2 separate regions of the Homo sapiens genome follow, and region 1 is linked to region 2. The links are contacts of gene promoters, found by promoter capture Hi-C in human tissues and cell types (Jung and others, 2019). All regions are on one chromosome and are shown on one strand. Each heading gives the region's core, a stretch centred on a gene start or on the middle of the fragment in contact. The rest is flanking DNA. Distances are from core to core; before and after follow the strand shown. Region 1 overlaps SH3BP4 (SH3 domain binding protein 4). Region 2 holds the start of AGAP1 (ArfGAP with GTPase domain, ankyrin repeat and PH domain 1).

Region 1 (3,482 bases), core at 911-3,410, 540 kb after region 2:
TCTTAAGGACAAATGGGCCCCCCAGCCAGCCCTCCACAAAGGCTAGTGGGAAAAAGTTGCAGATGTTATGATCTGAGAAAGCATTTGGGGAAGGTCTTTTAACCAGCTGCTCCTGGTGATCAGCTATTCACACCCAATGCTTCCCTCTCAGCATCTGCGGCCACTCCCCACCGCACGGGTACCCCAAGGAGAATTTTCCGCCCCTGCTAGAATCCCAGTCCCTCTGACCCAACCCTGGCTCCCTCCTGCCCTGTCTCCACACCATCAAATACGGTCCAATTTCTTTTATCACCAACATTCTTCTGCGTGGCCTCCACTCTGTGCTATTTCTTCTATTATAGGAGTTTCTCCACTACCACAGTGACAGGGTTCCAGTCCTCCCGTTCATAAATCCTCCGCACATGATAGACTCAGAACTGTCCCGTCTGCTTTGAGCTCTCAACCCCCTCTCCCCCTACCCCCATCTTTCTCCTCCTTGACTTCAGGGCCCCGCAGGGCACTTGTTCTCCCATCCCAGCTGCTCCTCCACTGGCTCCCCCTTAGCCTTCCTGCCCCTTCTGGGGGTGATCCAGCAGTGTGATCCTGGCCCCTGCTCTTCACTCTAGGTTCCCATGTATGAGCTCTTCCACACTCACTGCCCAACTCTAAGGAAGTGAGCCCAGGACCGCCCTCTCTCAAACAGCCCTCCTCTGGCCAGCAGGACAGACCCTTCCCCAGACACCCCCCCAGGGCGAGCACCTCCTTGAATCCTGCACCCCAGGGGCCTCGTGTGCCTCTCCCCAGTCCCAGCCCCGCTCACCATGGCTGGCTCTGAAGTTGAATGACTTTTCCCTCCCACATGCTTACTGCCTCCAAGGAAAGCTCTCACATTTTAAAATAATTTTACTGGTAATTATGATGGAGAAAAAATAATCAGCTTATGTGCGCACCCAAGCTCAAGGACTCTTACAAAGTGTTCAGCTATGGTCCTTGGGCGGTAGGGTTTCTCTTTCCTTCATCTGGGTGGTCCCAGTAAGCCCCTCTGCTTTAATATCTGAGAACAGCTCATCACACCCACCCAGGGGGTCTGCCTGGCTTCATCCTGACCCCCTGACTTCCTGGAAGGAAGACTCTTTTCCTTTCTAGACCAGCAGAAGCAACCAAAGCCAAACAAGTATGTGGACCTCATCAGTGTAGGACACGTGCCCCTGGAGGAGGACAGACCTGTTGGGGGGAAGATGGGCTCCGCCTGCCTCTCCTAGCCCAGCACTTCCTCACCCTCTACGAGGCCTTAAGGAAAAACATTCCCTGCTCTGCAAGGGAGATCTCACCTCCTTGGGCTCAAATACACAGGGTCTGCCACGCCCTGCCCCAAACTGCACCCCCTCAGCTTTCTTCTTGAACAAATTCATCACCACATCCCTGGTGTTCAACGTGGATATACATTACAGTCACCCGGGAAGCTTTCCAAATCTACAGAGGTCTGGACCCACACCCAGACATTCTGATTCAACTGGGGATGGGCCTGGAACATGGATTGTTGTTTTTTTAAGCTCCCGGGTGATTTTAAAATGCAGCCTGAGTTTTGAAGCCTTCTACTCTTGCTGGCCAAATTCGGTTACTCAGTAGTACCCAAATCCTTTTTCAGTACTGCTCCTAGGCAGACATGGACCAAGCAGAAGTGAGGCCACAATTTCTTCCATTAAAGTGATGGGGGTGACGGAAGGGGAAGCAGGGGTGTCGTGTGGGTGGGCTCAGTGCAATGAATGGTGAGCAGGACCCAGCTCTTCTTGGCTCACACAGATTGTTAACTATTTAGTAATGTTCCCAGCCCAAACTGGCAGTTTGAAATCAGGCTGGGCATGGTGGCTTGCATCTGTAATCCCAGCACTTTGGGAGGCCAAGCTGGGCCGTTCACCTGAGGTCAGGAGTTCAAGACCAGCCTAGCCAACATGGGGAAGCCGGTCTCTACTAAAAATACAAAAACTTCTGGGCGTGGTGGCACATGCCTGTTGTCCCAGCTACTCAGGAGGCTGAGGTAGGAGAACAGCTTGAATCTGGGAGGTGGAGGTTGCAGTGAGCCGAGATTGCACCACTGCACTCCAGCCAGCCTGGGTGACAGAGTGAGACTCAAAAAAAAGAAAAAGAAATTAGCCATGGTGGGAATATTTACGTCACAGAAATTGGCAGATACTGCAATCGAAGCTCTGCTTTCTCCTCAGAGAGCAGGTTTACCGGCACACTATGAGCTCAGGGACCTCCTACATTGGAGGGGCTAGAAAAGCTTCCTGCCTGCTCATAAAAATGGGGCAAGGGCAGGGCAACATACCTCACACCTGTAAGCCCAGTGCTTTGGGAGACCAAGGCTGGAGGATCACTTGAAACCAGGAGTTCAAGACCAGCCTGGACAACATAGCGAAACCCCATTTCTACAAGAATTTAAAAAAAAAAACTACCCGGGCGTGCTGGTGTGCACCTGTAGTTCCAGCTACTCAGGAGGCTGAGGAAGAAGGATTGCTTGAGCCCAGGAGTTGAAGGCTGCAGTGAGCTATGATTGAGCCACTGCACTCCAGCCTGGGCAACAGAGAAATCTCAACTCAAAAAAAAAAAAAAAAGAGGCAGGGTTGTCCTCAGTTATGCAGATTTAATAAAAACTTGGAACCATAAAATCCTTTCAAAGGAAGTATTCTTCTCAATCTCTACAGAAGAGTTGGGCTAACAGGCTTCAGCAAAGAGAGCTCCCCTGAGATAAGCTTTTATTGCGCAGATAAGAATAATCTCATTAGTATGTCATTTATTTGATTGTAAAGAGGAAGGTGGAACCCTTATTGTACATTTACTTAACCGCCTTCCTATAATCTTAATCTCATTCTAGTGACCCCATGTGCCCAAACACCCTCTTTTCACGGGACAAGGAAAGACATCGTACCAAATCCTGGGTTATCCCAACTTCAAAGTCACAATCTTCCAAATAAACCTTGCTTCGCCCTGGTGACGGGGTGAGGGTTTCACGAACAAAGGTGCAAAATGGCTGCCTTCCATTTAGGCTGAGAAAGCGTCACATGTTTTAAAGATTTCATCACCTTCAGAGTACAAGCTATTTTCTAATTGTGTGAGGGAGGCTGGCACTCCGCTATTTGCATGCCTGTATCTTCAGGCTCCAATGTGTGACTGAGAGCCGTTTGTTTCTTTAATTTCAGCACCCCGGGAGATGTGATGACGAGCTCTGGACTTGGACAGATCCAGGTTCAAATCCCAACTCAAGCACTCATTAAAGTCTAAGGTTGGAGGAGTTTCTTAAATTCTCGTAGCTTCCCTGTAAAATGAAACCCCTGGTAGTTTTCGTGAGGATTCAAAAGGGCACACATGCAGCCTAGCATATGGTAAGCCCTCAACGAGTGGTACCTATTTCCATCCCTCAAAATACCCCAAACCTTAAATTAGAGGAATTCCATACAGCAATTCTACTTCCTCAAATCCATATGCTTCCTGATGACTTCAGG
Region 2 (3,749 bases), core at 556-3,055:
GGGAGAAAGTGCTGATCAACTGTGGCTAAGATATGACTCCACACTGTCCACGCACATGCCACCTGGTGCCCCAGGTGAGTCTTGGCCGGACCAAAGGGATGAAGCAAGAAAATAAATCAGCAGCCTGGAAACAGAGAAATGAGAGCCACCAGAAATCCAGAGGGCACAGCCCCGGAAGGCAGACTGCTGCTGTAGCTCTCCTGGAAGGCCATGGCCCTGCCTGACATGCAGAGGGAAGCGGGTGGGGATTCTGCCCAAGCATCCTGCCCCTCTTAAAACCACAGCACCCTCCACTTCAGTGGCCTCCAACTGCAGACATATGAAAGCGAGACCCTTCCGCTGGAGGACGCCCTGCCCTCCTGGTAGGGTTCTTCCTCTAATCCAACCCCGGACTTTTGGTTGGTACAAAGCACACTACCGGTTCCAGCGTTTGCACAGGGGCACCTGGACACGATGCTCCCGCGGCTAGGGCTGGCTCTCGGCATCCACTAAGTTCAACTGCACCCCTGAATTAAGCAAACACACTAAGGAGGGCAGCCCTGCACCGCCCAAACACGCCGGCCCGGGCCTCGCCCCCAGCGGCAGCACTTCTCAGAACACGTCTTCAACGTCCAGCAAGACGCCCAGGCCTGGCCTGGTAACCTGTCAGGGGTCGGGTGGCGCCGACCCCGCCGGCTGCCCCCAGGCGTCTGCTGGGCCGGGACGCTCCGGCAGCCCAGGACGCGGAGGCACCGAGCCACTTTCCCGCAGGAGAGACTCTATTGTCCACGATCAAATTAACGCTGACGATCTATCTTCCTGGCGGAGCTCGCGGCGCGGCGGGGCGCAGGCGACGCTCGCCCGGCCTTGCAAGACAAGCAGCGCCGCAGTGCTCCCTCGGCGGAGCAGCCGCGTGCCCCGGCCGGCGTGTGTGGACACCCGCACGCACACAGCGCACACCCCCGCCGCGCCGCGGGCGTCCGTGCCTTCCCGAGGCCCCAAGGCGGCCCGGCCCTCACCTTCGATGGCGATGACGTGCTCCCGGATCTGGTTCTGCAGCACCGGCTCCTCCACGCGCTCCAGCAGCTCGTAGATGGAGTAGATGTTGGGGTGGACCGACTCGAAGCGCTGGATCTCGGCCCGGATGGCAGCCGAGTTGGCCAGCTGCTGCTGGTAGTTCATGGTGCAGGCGCCGCGCCCGGAGCCGCGCGCCCCCCGCCGCCGCCGCCCCGCGCCCCGGGGCCCGCGGGCCGCCGAGCCCGGGGCGCCGCAGCCCCCGGGGAGCCGGGCCCGCCGGCGGCGGGCGGAGGAGGCGCGAGAAGAAAGGCGCGGGCGGAGCAGGCGCGGGGCTGGCCCGCGGGCTCAGTTCATGGCCGGGACGCGCGGCCGGCGAGCGAGCGGGCCCCGGCGTCCCGGGTCAGCGGGCCGCCCGGGGGGAGCGCGCCCCCATGGAGCGCGCCGCGGCGGGTGCGGCCGGCCCCGAAGGAGGCTTGCTCGGGTGACTTCCTGAGCCGCAGCCGCCTTCCAGCCCTAGGCGCTGCTCCGCGGAGCAGCCATTAAAGCCCAGGCAGCCGCCGCGCTCCGAGCGCCGGGGCCGAGGGCCGACCCCTGGGCAGTGTGGCCGCGCTGCTCTGGGCTCCTGGCCGTGGCGTGGGTCCGCGCGCTGCGTACTGCGCCGCCCGGCGCGCCGGGGCCCCCGCGCGAGCCCGCCGTGCGCCGCCCGCCGACCTGGGACCGAGTCGCAGGCGCCTTGCAAGCCGCGGAGCCCGCTCCGAGCGCCGCCCGCCGCCTGCCCGGCCGGCCCCCTCCCTGGCACGCAGGGCTCCGGCCCACGTCGGCCCCGCCCCCGCCTTCGCCCTCGCCCGCGCCCGCGCCCGCGCCCCGCCTGCCCGCGCGCTTGCCGCCCTCCGGCCGCCGGCGCTGCGTCCTCCTCGGCGCTTCCCAGCGCGCCGGATCCCGGGGAATTGCGCCAGGCCCCGCCCCGCGCCTGCCTCTGGGCTTCCTGGGACTTGTAGTCCGCGCCCCCGGCGGGCCGGGCCAGGGGGGTGCGCGGGGTGTTCACACTGGGCCGGGGTGCGGGACCCTCCCGCCGGCCAGGCCCCGCGCCTGCCAGCTCCTGCCCGGGTTCTCGCGGCGGCCCCCGCGCCCCGGCACGGGGGAGGCTGCCCGGGAGTTCGCCCGCCGCGTTGTTGTTTGTTTCCAAGCGGCTGGCTCCAGGAGCCTCTGCGACTCGCCAGTGTCCCACGGCCTCGCTTGGTTGGCGAGCCTCCCCTTCCCGCGTTTGGTAACTTTCTGCCTCCTTTCTCAAAGTAGCACACGTGCTTTCCCTTAATACATGCGATTTCTTTCCAAAGGCGAAGCGCCTCCTGAGCCCATGCGGCGTGGGGGTCCACACTCCACGAGTGGACTGAAGTTTAGACAGGGGTGCGAGATGCGACAAAATACCACAGAGGCTTTCGAGGCATCCTTCTCCCTTACAATTTTTAAAAATCGAGCCGTGGATCTCAAGCTGCTGCCTCCTGAGCGCCGCTGCCTGCTCCACGGGGTTCCTTAGCCCCTGGACCGTCTGTCCCACCGCAATCCCCGATTTAGGTCATCCCCGGGGACCCCCCGCGGAGCTGGGACCGCACTGCAGCAGCGCTTGGAAGGCTCGTCTCGCCGCTTTGAGGCAAATGGGACCCTTCAGATTTGCGGAAGCACTGGCTGCCGGGCGGTCCCACAAGGTCCTGGATTGAGGACACTGGCTGAGTCCCTGCCCCCAGCCATCGGCGTGGTCTTTCTGAAACTCAGCCAGCCGGGCCGGCATCCCCGTTTAAAGCCTGCTGAGCCTTCACCGGCTCACATGCAGTTTGCTATGGCCTAAGCACCCTGGTATCCAGCCGTGTTGGCTTACTGGCTGGGCTCCACAACTTCCCAAAGATGTGCTGACATTTTTACCATTCCGGACCTGCTTGTCTTCTCCTTGACACTTAGGCACAGGTCATCACTCCATGCCTCGGGCTGTCCACGCATAAGTAACTCTAGTAACCAAGAGGCAGGCATGTGGCCTCACCAAACCTGACCTATCAGCAGCAGCTGATCACTTGCGCTCCTGGAAACCCCTTCTCCCAGTGCTCACCAGGGCTTCCTGCTGTGTTTCTGGCTTCACTGTCCCTTTTGTGGTTTTCTTCTACTCCCCTAACCTCTAAATATGGAGGGCCCCAGGGCTTATGGTTAGGCCTCTTTTCTTTGCTATTTGCTGTGATCGCCCCTGTCTTATGGCTTTGAATATCATACACAGGTTAATGAAGCTCATATGTATCTCCAGCTGTGACCTCACCCCTGAATAACAAATTCACATCCACCTGCATCCTCAACATTTCCTGAAGCCTAGCTGGTGTTTAAGTCCAGCATGTCGCCAGCTGAACTCCTGCCATCCCTTCCGGCTACATCTCCTAAAAATCTTCTCCATCCCAGTCATCGGCAACTCCAGGCCACCATTTGCTTAGGCGAAAAATTCAGTGCTGTCCTTTTTGCTTATCATTCTCTCATATCCCAAATGGTGTCAGCTCCACCTTCAGAGGATCCAGAATCCCACGACTTCTCACCACTCGGCTGAAGTCAGGATCATCTAGCTGGACCATCACTAGATCTAACAATTGTAATAGCTCACTGCTTCCTACCTGGTGAAACTTACAAAACCTACGTCCGGACTTGTCATGCCTTTTCTCAAAACCCTCCAATGACTCCCATCTGGCCTCGCCCCACAGGCATGAGCTCTTATCAAGAGC

The links. The method cuts DNA at HindIII sites, captures the fragments that hold promoters and counts their contacts. A contact is called where the count stands out against the background at its distance.
Region 1: a fragment that was not itself captured here is called in contact with the fragment with the promoter of AGAP1 in region 2 in 1 of the 25 tissues and cell types used here (dorsolateral prefrontal cortex).

Annotation. Positions count from the first base shown.
Region 1 is chr2:234,955,670-234,959,151 of GRCh38, reverse strand. All of the region lies in intron 1 of SH3BP4 (SH3 domain binding protein 4), which reads right to left. Among named protein-coding and RNA genes, the nearest start is that of SH3BP4, 5.4 kb to the right of the region's middle. The HindIII fragment of the contact is 3,697 bases long and covers 312-3,482 here.
Region 2 is chr2:235,492,099-235,495,847 of GRCh38, reverse strand. It overlaps AGAP1 (ArfGAP with GTPase domain, ankyrin repeat and PH domain 1), which reads right to left and starts at 1,805. Exons shown (of 18, transcript NM_001037131.3): 1 at 999-1,805. The coding sequence starts at 1,161. RefSeq lists an enhancer at 1-551. The HindIII fragment of the contact is 11,360 bases long and covers 1-3,749 here.